Regions from separate parts of the Homo sapiens genome. Here region 1 is linked to region 2. Evidence: promoter capture Hi-C in 16 types of primary human blood cells and fetal thymus (Javierre and others, 2016). All regions are on one chromosome and are shown on one strand. The core of a region is centred on a gene start or on the middle of the fragment in contact, and the rest is flanking DNA. Distances in the headings are between cores, read along the strand shown. Region 1 overlaps SHROOM3 (shroom family member 3). Region 2 holds the start of SHROOM3-AS1 (SHROOM3 antisense RNA 1).

Region 1 (5,416 bases), core at 1,007-3,506, 250 kb before region 2:
GGATACAGCAGTAAACAAGACAGACACAAATCCCTGCCTTCGTGGGGCTGACATTCCAGTAGAGGACAGACAATAAGCAAGATACGTAAGTAAAAAATAGAGTTCATGGCCAGGCGCGGCGGCTCATGCCTGTAATCCTTGCACTTTGGGAGGCTGAGGTGGGTGGATCACTTGAGGTCAGAAGTTCGAGATCAGCCTGGCCAACATGGTGAAACCTTGTCTCTACTAAAGATACAAAAATTAACTGGATGTGGTAGCGTGCGCCTATAGTCCCAGCTACTCGAGACACTGAGGCAGGAGAATCACTTGAACCCAGGAAGCAGAGGTTGCAGTGAGCCGAGATTGCATCACTGCACTCCAGCCTGGGTGACAGTGCAAGGCCCTGTCTCAAAACACACACACACACACACACACACACACGTCATGAATTAAGTGTTAATGAGAAAATAACAATGCGGAGGAAGATAAGTAGTATTAGGGGAGGCTGAAATTTTAAAGCGGTAGCTAGGAAAGGCCCCCTCTGGAAGACGAATTTGTGTAAGACCTGGAGGAGGTAAGGGAAAAAGTCAAATGGTTCCCTGGGGGAAAAGCATTCCAGGCTGAGGGAACAGCAAGTCTAAGGCCCCTGAAGGAAGACAGTGCCTGCCATGCTCCCTGTGCCGCTGGAAGGCCAGGGGCTGGTATTGAGTGATCCAGTGGAGAACACTAAGAAGTGAAGCAGCAGGGAGGTCAAATCCAGCACGGCAGGGCCTTTGGTACAGAGGGAGGACTGCGGTTTCTCTTCTAAGTGTGATGAGGAGGGTCACAGGGAGGGCACAAACCCTGGAGAAGCACAACACAGGACCAATCCCCATAACAGCAGCTCCACCCTTTCTCACTTAGACTGGGCTAGAGTGGTTAAGCATGAGGAAAAGAGATGGGCCTGGCTTTCTGTGCCTCAAAGCACCACGTCAAGCTGTGACATAGGCATCCACCACTCTTCCTTTGTGCCTACACCTGTATTTTTGAATGTACTCTCATCACAGTGTATATCACCGTGCTGTTCTTCAAAGTCAGTTTCCCCAGTATTTGTTCAATAAATGTTTACCGATCACTCATTACGTGCAGGCACTATGTTAGGTGCTAAATAGTACAGTGACATAAAAGGCTGTAAACAATTAAAAAATCAACGCCTCTTATGTCAGAAAAGTAACACTGTGTCATCAAAGCAAAGTCGACTTCTCCTATAGGTGTGGGTATATTTAGGATTTGAGAAGGGAAAAAGCGTGCTTAGCTTCCGGGCTCCAATGTGCGGATATACACCCTCTCCTTAGCTTGTTAGCTTAGGGATTTCCCACCCAGTTGCACACGGTGTGTTATCTGAAGTCATTTAACCTGTTGACAGTCGCATTCTTGGAATAAGTAAGTTCCATGCAGGTGAACTTGGACAAACAATGCCAGTAACCTTTTTAGCTGCTGAAGTAATTGGTCCAAAAGTTTAAAATAATAAGCTTCATTTTCCACTGAATCTTGTTGACAGAGAGTATCAGCAGGGCTTGGAGTTAGAAGAGTCTAAATCCCTGATGAATAGTTCAAAAAAATTACTGTTAAACTTTTTGTAAACAAGGTTTTTTTAGTCATAATAATGTTTTTAAGATAAATTGTGTGGATAATTGGTACAAACTTACGATGTATGCATTTAGTTAGCCTCAGTACAATCAAATGTGTTGTTACCAGTGCATCAACAAATGCACCTCAATATCTTAATTTATCATTCATGATAATAAATGGAGACAACACCATAGATTAAGGTAATTCACAGCCTTGTTCTAGCCAATGGCTTCAACTTTCTTTCCTTTTTTTTTTTGAGATGGCGTCTCGCTCTGTTGCCCGGGCTGGAGTGCAGTGGAGCGATCTTGGCTCACTGCAACCTGTGCCTCCTGGGTTCAAATGATTCTTCTACCTCAGCCTCCTGAGTAGCTAGGATTACAGGTGCGTGCCACCATGCCCGCCTAATTTTTGTAATTTTAGTAGAGACGGGGTTTCACCATGTTGGTCAGGCTGGTCTCGAACTCCTGACCTTGTGATCTGCCTGCCTTGGCCTCCCAAAGTGCTGGGATTATAGGTGTGAGCCACTGCGCCCGGCAGTGGCTTCAACTTTCTTGGCAACCAAGTTTATTGTAGGAGTGGCCAACAAATATCACATCCACAGACACTGATGCTACCAAATAGAAAGGTCAGGAAAGGGCCAGCAGCAACAAAGAGGGAGGAGGGGAATGTGAGGGTCCTAAGGAATCCACAGGCTGATGGAGCATCCCTTAATCCAGTTAACTGAAATGAGTTAGACTAAGAGTCTACACTTGGCCCCCAGCTGGCTCAATTCAAGTCCTCCCTTGGACCTACTGGGACTCCACCTTTAGGAGTGGATCCTCTGGAGGAATCCTGGCACCAAGCAAACTTCCCAGGGCTCCTTTGACTTGCTGGAAATTGGCTGACCTCTGAGGGAGTGTTGTTTAAATGGATCAATTTAAGCACAGAAAGAATCCAGCCTAATTTTTTGTGTGTGCGTTTTAATTTTTTTTTATCAGTATAGGCTCTCTGACATGTCCCAGTGAATGTGCATGTTTTTTAAGTACAATGATATGAAATATATTAAAAGTATACTAGAATATAAACTCTGGGAAAGGAGAGAACACCGTGTTTCCTTTGTTGATATTTTCCCAGCCCTAGAATTATGCCTGCCAATGATAGATGCTTAAAAAATACTTGTGAGATGAATGAAAGAATGAATGTGTTCACCAAGTTTCTGACCTCAAAGAGTTTAGGACCTAGAAGAGCAGATAGGGCATGGTCAGAAATACCTATGACAAAGGTAGTGACTGAGGCTTGTCTTAAGACAGAAACCATTAAGAGGAGAGGATGAAATAGATTCTGCCTGGGTTGATAAGGAGACATTTCATAATGGAAGAGTATTTGGAGGAAAAAAGGAGGAAAAGGAAACTAGAAATGTGGGATGGGCCTTCTACAAAAGATCACTGTTGAAGAAAGCTTCTAAAAATCTTCTTTGGTAATAATTAAAACCCCAAGACAGCACAAATCCCTGAGAGACAGTATGGAGAGATGTGAGAATCAAAACATGAAGTAGGGGCCCATGAAATGTTTGACAAATAAGTGCCATTTCAAAAACGTCATCCCATGGCCAGGTGCAGTGGCTTTCATCTGTAATCCCAGAACTTTGGGAGGCTGAAGCGGGAGGCTTGCTTGAGTTCAGGAGTTCAAGACCAGCCTAGGCAACATAGTGAGACCTGTCTCCACAAAAAATAAAAAAATTTCCCCAGGCATGGTGGCACATGCCTGTGATCCCAGCTACTGAGGAGGCTGAGGTGGGAGGATTGCTTGGGTCCAGGAGTTTGAGGCTACAGTGAGTTGAGATCACACCACTGCACTCCAGCTTGAGCAGCAGAGAGAGAACCCTCACTTGGGGGCTAGGATGAATTTTTTTTCGAGACAGGGTCTCCCTCTGTTGCCCAGACTGGAATGAAATGGTGCAATCTTGGCTCACTGCAACCTCAACCTCCTGGGCCCAAGCGATCCTCCCACCTCAGCCTCCTGCATAGCTGAGACCACAGGCATGTGCCACCACATCCGGCTAATTCTAAAAGTGCAGTGCAAAACGAAGAGATTGTGAGGAACTCTGTAAATACAAAAGGTTAAAGAAATAGTTTATAAGAACAGTGAACAACAATGAAACTCTTTATGACAGTCTTCCCCATAATGTTTGCTTTCACATCAAATCAGTCATGAGGACATGATATAAACTATACAAATGAGCTTTCTTGACTTCCTTTTTTAATATAAGAAATTGATTGTTTCCTAGGTCTCATTTCGTTGAAATTGTTGGCAAATAATACTGAAGGGATGCAATTTCACAAACTGCAACATGAGCAAGACCGTATCTACAGTGTTCATCACTGTACTCGCAGCTTTTAGCACCATAGCTGACCACAGTAGTGGCTGTTCATAAATATTTATTGAATGAACGAACCAATATTTTCTGAGTAGGTCCTGTGTGCAAAGCTCTGGAGAGGCATGCTGGGGGAGGAAAGGATGGAGTCATGATTTCTCATGAAGTCTCTTCAATAACTTCACAGTCCAAGGTGGGGAGGGGTGGGACTGTGAGTGGGGAACAGACATAGACATAAATAGCTTTGCTGAAATTCAGGGTGTGTAACCACAGCAGCAAGTTCAAGCAGTATAAAAATAATAAACTATTAGATGTCACTTTACATTTATATATTATTTTGTCCACTTGATTATCTGAAAATGGGAAAAAGAAGAATTATTATTATTATTTTTTTTTGAGACAGAGTCTCGCTCTGTCACCCAGGCTGGAGTGCAGTGGTGCGATCTCGGCTCACTGCAAGCTCTGCCTCCTGGGTTCACGCCATTCTCCTGCCTCAGCCTCCCGAGTAGCTGGGACTACAGGCGCCCGCCATCACGCCCGGCTAATTTTTTGTATCTTTAGTAGAGACGGGGTTTCACCGTGTTAGCCAGGATGGACTCGATCTCCTGACCTTGTGATCCGCCCGCCTCGGCCCCCCTAAATTGCTGGGATTACAGGCATGAGCCACTGCGCCTGGCCTAAATTTTTAATTGTTATTTATAAAATAAAAGCTATTTTATATATATTAAAATAGTATATATTGGCCAGGCACAGTGGCTCATGCCTGTAATCTCACCACTTTGGGAGGCCAAAGTGGGAGGATCACTTGAGCCCAGGAGTTCAAGACCAGCCCAGGCAACACAGCAAAAGCCCATCTCTACAAAAAATACAAAAATTAGCCAGACCTGTTGGCACACGCCTATAGTCCTAGCTACTCAAAAGGCTGAGATGGGAGAATTGCTTGAACCCAGGAGGCTGAGGTTGCAGTGAGCCAAGACTGTGCCACTGCACTCCAGCCTGTGCACCAGAGCAAGAGTCTGTCTCCCAAAATATCTATATATGTATATAGATATATCAATTATATAATATATGTATATAGACATACCAAGCAATTATATATGTATATACATATATCTATATACATATACATTCCTCATTATGTTTGCTATATACATATACATATATATAGATATCTATATATGTATGTAGCTATGTCTGCATATAATTTGTATATGTAATATATGTATATATATAATTGCTTGGTCTATTTTATGTATCTTGAGACCTATTGAAGGTTTTTGAACATGTGGGCAATTCTGGAGAGTAATTACTAAAAAAAGAGAAAATATGGGTGAGGTTTTGTTTACTCAGGTTTTGTTTTTGTTTTCCCCTTTACTTCCCTTTCATTGTTATTGACGTCTATAAGTATCCATTGGCATGTGACCCAGATCGAGCCTTATTTTCCTGTTTCCAAAGCATATGATTAATTTCTAA
Region 2 (5,079 bases), core at 2,471-4,970:
TCTAATCTGAGCACTTACTACTTATTCATGCAAGCCAGCAGGCCAGTGGAGCCCCTCTGTTTCCAGAAACTGGTAGATTTTAGGGTGTTAGGGAGCACTAGCTCTTCTCCTCTGTTCTTCTAAGAGGGATCATCTGTCCTAGGGAATTTCCTTTGCCTAAGAGTTTGGACTTTTAAACATAAAAGCCATAAAGGGTTGCAGCCTCCTCCTAGTTTCCCCATTCAGCCAGATCCCTTGCCCTAGATAGGGGGAGGAAAAGAATTTAGAGAAAAGGCCTGACTTACGATCTCAAAATATCCAAGATTTAGAACCCAGTTATTCATATACATGCTCTCTTCTAATCACTAAAAGGTCTTAAAAGACATAAGTTTCCTATTTCCTTTCTAAAAACCTACACTCTTCTCTCCTCTTTCCCACTGTAAAAACGAAGCAAGAAAAAAAAAAAATTCGCAAACTGGACAGCCCTCAGAATTACAGATTTGGAGCAACTCGAGCAATGCAACGTGGGCAGAGCAAATTTATGGACAGAAAAAGGAAGGTGACATATAGAAAACGGAAGTGAGGTACAGAAACAGCCAGACTGGTTACAGCTCAGCCTTTGCCTTATTTGGACACAATTTGAACAGTTGGCCGCCTGTGAGTGGACCCTATTCTTCTGCCTCAGGATTGGCTAAGACTCAGCTCTTATTACATACTCCTAAATCAGGTTCATAGTTTGTCTACCTACCAAGGTAGCTTACGGTTTATCCATAAGGACTCAACTATGTGAGTACAGAGACTTTCTCAGGCCAGATTTTAGTTTGATTTAACAAGGGTAAGCTCATTAAATGCTTGTTGAAGTTACAAATATTAGCTATTTGCACCTACTGTGCTTGAGTTACAGTTCTTTTCCTAAGTACCGTACAGGTCTAGACAAAAAGAAAGCAGCTAGGTATCTAAGAGATTAAAAAGACCTAGATGAGAGAATGTACAATTCCACAGGGCAGCAAAAATAAACTTTACTTGGTTTACATTTGCCCAACTGCATATGGCCCCATCTCTTAGCTTTCACACTGTATATAATTCTGTACAGGGATAGAACCAAGTTTTCCCCTTTTTGTTCACTCATTGCCTCTCATTGCATCATGAACAAATGCATTGCATCATGAACAATGCCTCTCATTGTTCACTCATTTGTTCACTCATTGCATCATGAACAATAGTGCCTGAGATGCTTACTTCAGAATTGAGACAGGCAATTGGGCCAAAACCTGTTGAACCTCAGTGAATATAAAACATGAGTGGCAGAAAAGAGCAAAGGAAGGGAGGAAGGAAGGAGGGAAGGAGGGAAGGAAGAAAGACAAAAGAAAGAGCATCCAAATAGAAAGAAGTCATATTATCCTTATTTGCTGGTGATAAAATCTTATATTTGGAAAAACCTAAAGACTCCACCAAAAAACTATTAGAGCTGATAAATTCAGTCAAGTTGAAGGATACAAAATCTACACAAATCAGTAGCATTTCCATATGTCAACACTGAACTATCTGAAAAAGAAATCAAGAAAGTAATCTCACAATAGGTACACATAAAATAGGAATTAATCAAAAAATGAAACATCTCTATGATGAAAACTATAAAACACTGATGCAAGAAATTGAAGAGGACACAAAAACATTGAAAGACATTCCATGTTCATGGACTAGATCAATATTGTTAAAATGTCCATACTACCCAAAGCACTCTAGAGAGTCACTGCAATCTCTATAAAAATACCATTGACATTCTTCATAGAAATAGAAAAAAAAAATTCTAAAATGTATATGCAACCACAAAAGATCCAAAAGAGCCAAAGCTATTCTGAACAAAAAGAATGAAACTGGAGGAACATTACCTGACTTCAAATTGTGCTACACAGTTATTATAACCAAAACAGCACAGTATTGGCATGAAAACAGACCCATAGACCAATGGAGCAGAATGGAGAACCCAGAAATAAATTCATACATCTACAGTGAATTCATTTTCAACAAAGGTGCCAAGAACATACATTGGGGAAAGGACAATCTCTTCAATAAATGGTGCTGGGGAAACTGGATATCCATATGTAGAAGAATGAAACTAGACCCCATGTCACTATATACAAAAATCAAATCAAAATGGATTAAATAGTTAAATCTAAGACCTCGAACTATGAAACTACTACAAGAAAACAATGGGAAAACGCTCCAGGACATTGGACTGGGCAAAGGTTTCTTGAGTAATATCCCTCAAGCACAGGCAACCAAAACATGAGCGGGACTTTTAGGGTGCACTACTCTCAACACCTGAGAAGCAAAACTATGAAAATAAAAGCAAAAATTCCCCCGACCCAACCCCTCCTGGTCTCCTAGTCATTCTTCAAGTTCTGAGTCAATTTATGCCTATGATTTTAAAACACAGGTTTTGTAGCCAGACGGACTACATTCAGACCCAGATTCACTATTATCCTTTGCCTTAGTTTGATAATCTGTAAAATGGGGCTAATCTCTCTCGAGGCTATGCTGAGGATCAGATGACTGCCAAATATAAAGTATTTATATGGTGCACCGTATAAATACTTTGCACCAACCTTATATATCTTAAGCACCTCGTCAATGGGTGCTGTCATCATATTTGCCAAGAGTTATCCCAGGTGGGAGTGATAGAGCAGTGAACAAAACAGACACAGCCGCTGGCCTCCTCCAGGTGCACACAGCCTTCCAAAAATAATATTAATTAAATAAAGCATTGTAACAACACTGACTTAAACTCCTCTGGTCGGGACTGCCCTGTGACTATGTCTGGAATATGTCTAAATTAGCACCCACAACTGTTTTATAAGTCTTCAAAGCCTGTCTCCTCCCAGGCCTTGAACCCCTGGGCACAGAGACCAGCGGCTGATCCCTACCTTTGGGCGCTCGCCCCTGCACTGTGCCTGGCCCTCAGCAGGCCCTACCGACTGTCCTTGCTGACAACAGGAGGAGGGCTGTTGGCGGCACTGACAAATCAAGCGGGTGTCGGACCTCAGCGCCTAGAGGGAGTGCTCTGTCTCCCTCCTTTCCGCCCGGTCTCAGTCTCCCGCCCGGATTCCCTCCCACCGGCAGTAGCCAACAGCCTGTCCCAGCCTTGACCCCATCCATTCTCTCAGCTTACTCTCAGGGTCCGAAACGTGAAAAGGCCAGCAGCTTAGCAAGGTCTCCGACCTCTGTTCCACTCGCCCTCGCCCTCCTTGCTGCTGCGCCTAAAAGCAATCCCAGGCCCACCGCGCCCGCCCACGCTGGCTTCCCCCAGACACCCCCGGCTGCGATTCCCCTACCAGACTTGGCAGTTCCCCAGGGTGTTCGCATTAGCGCCAAGGGGAAACATTCGTTGTTAATTACGTTGCTTCTTAATGATGAGCGTCTGCCGGGCGGCTCCTCTCAGAAGAAAGGCAAAGTGTTCGGAATCGCAACATTTCTGGCCCTGAGCTCTGGAAGGATCGAGCTCCGCTACGGGCCCAGGGCTGAGAAAACGCGCGACCCCGGGGGTCCGTCCACCTCTTCAGGGAACCCACACATTCCACAGATCTCTGTGAAACAGAAAAAGTGTTCCTTCTGAAGACCAAGGGCGTCCCTACAAGATAGATTCTGTCCTCTTCCCTTTGGCTTCTTGGTGAGGGCGACCCTCTCTGCTGAGAGCGCTTCCCTCCAGCTCGCCACGGAGGACGCTGTGTAGCAAAGAAAGGTCCCTCTTCACTTGTGTGAGTTTGCTAACAGTGCACGCAAGGCTTCTCGGGTGAAAGAGGCCTGAGCCACTTCTTTTGAAGCCCTAAATGTATTTTTTAAATGAAGACATGCCAAACAGCTACAAAAAGTTGTAATTGTGCTGTATTTTAAAGCTCCGCCTTGATTACCAGTGTTGTTTACACGCATGCAACTGTAATGACTGCCTGCATAAGCTCATCTGGAGATAAGGCCTAAAGGCCGTATGTGAGGCCCCTGATGGACATGAGGCCAGGATCAAATAGCTCTTCTCCTCTCCCCTCTGAGACGAGCTCTGTGACTGCAAATACACAGGGAGGGGAGGGGAAGTGGCCTGAGAGAGGCGGCGGGAGGAGAATTAACCCTACAACAGAGACAGTGAGGTTTAAAAAAAATAAGTGGACTTGAGAACTGGGTTCATATTGGGTGCCGGTGAGGATACTTCACCTCCTTCTTGCCTCATTACCCATCTGTAAGCTAAGGAATGTTGAAAGAGGCTTTGTTCTCCAAAAAAGATAAAAACAGTTCTAAGGAGAAAAGAGGCCATGGGCCGGGAAGCAAGAATGCATTGCTAAGAGCACCCTGAAGATGTTTCTTTCCTCCTTCTTGCCTCCCTCCTCCTCCCTGAGATGGAATCAAAATGCTTTAACAGGCAGTTGACGAAGAACACGATTCATCCCAACCAAGTGGAGAGTTTTTCTTGTGTTTGATATTTATTAAAATCTTGGAATTCCACACTTCATCCATTTTTCCCATGGCTTCCCTTCATGCATAAACAGCAAAAAGGATGCTGCTTGTTACATAAACTTGTCAGGCTGCAAAAGCCCAACATTCTGTTTTCTCCCTAAGTGGGGTGCGGGAGGAAGCGTGTGTTTATTATGTATTACAAAGAGCTTTGCACTACCTAAAATCAAAGTAATTAGGTAGTGCGAGTCAAAAATAGTTTTGAAATGTTATAAATAAAGTGACAAAACACTTCTTTAGATTTCTGAGAAATGCATTCCTGACAATATTGCTCCTGCTCTCTCTGCATTTGCTATTAGAAAAGAAAGGCCTTCTTTCTCAGTCTATCTTTGCACCATCACCTGGACACCCTCCGAGATGAGTCACAGGCAGAGGAAATTATCGTGATTGCATATTGTTTAGTCTCTAAACTTCAGCTGCTTCCTGGGCAACCCAGTTGCCTGCAATTTAACCTGCCTGGATGGATGAGCTCATTAATGAGCCGCCCCACAGGCTTTCTCGATTGGCTCTTCTCCAGACCCTAGTTCTCTTTCTTCACCCAGTGGTCACTGGTTCACCAGCCTTCCTTGTGTGATGAAGTAAGTCCTCATCCCACTC

The links. The method cuts DNA at HindIII sites, captures the fragments that hold promoters and counts their contacts. A CHiCAGO score of 5 or more calls a contact.
Region 1: a contact is called between a fragment that was not itself captured here and the fragment with the promoter of SHROOM3-AS1 in region 2, in 1 of 17 cell types (M1 macrophages). The highest score is 5.2, in M1 macrophages.

What each region holds. Positions count from the first base shown.
Region 1 is chr4:76,547,541-76,552,956 of GRCh38, forward strand. All of the region lies in intron 1 of SHROOM3 (shroom family member 3), which reads left to right. Among named protein-coding and RNA genes, the nearest start is that of MIR4450, 23 kb to the right of the region's middle. The HindIII fragment of the contact is 1,537 bases long and covers 1,489-3,025 here.
Region 2 is chr4:76,798,743-76,803,821 of GRCh38, forward strand. It overlaps SHROOM3-AS1 (SHROOM3 antisense RNA 1), which reads right to left and starts at 3,721. Exons shown (of 3, transcript NR_187405.1): 1 at 3,315-3,721. RefSeq lists an enhancer at 2,506-3,296. The HindIII fragment of the contact is 9,780 bases long and covers 1-5,079 here.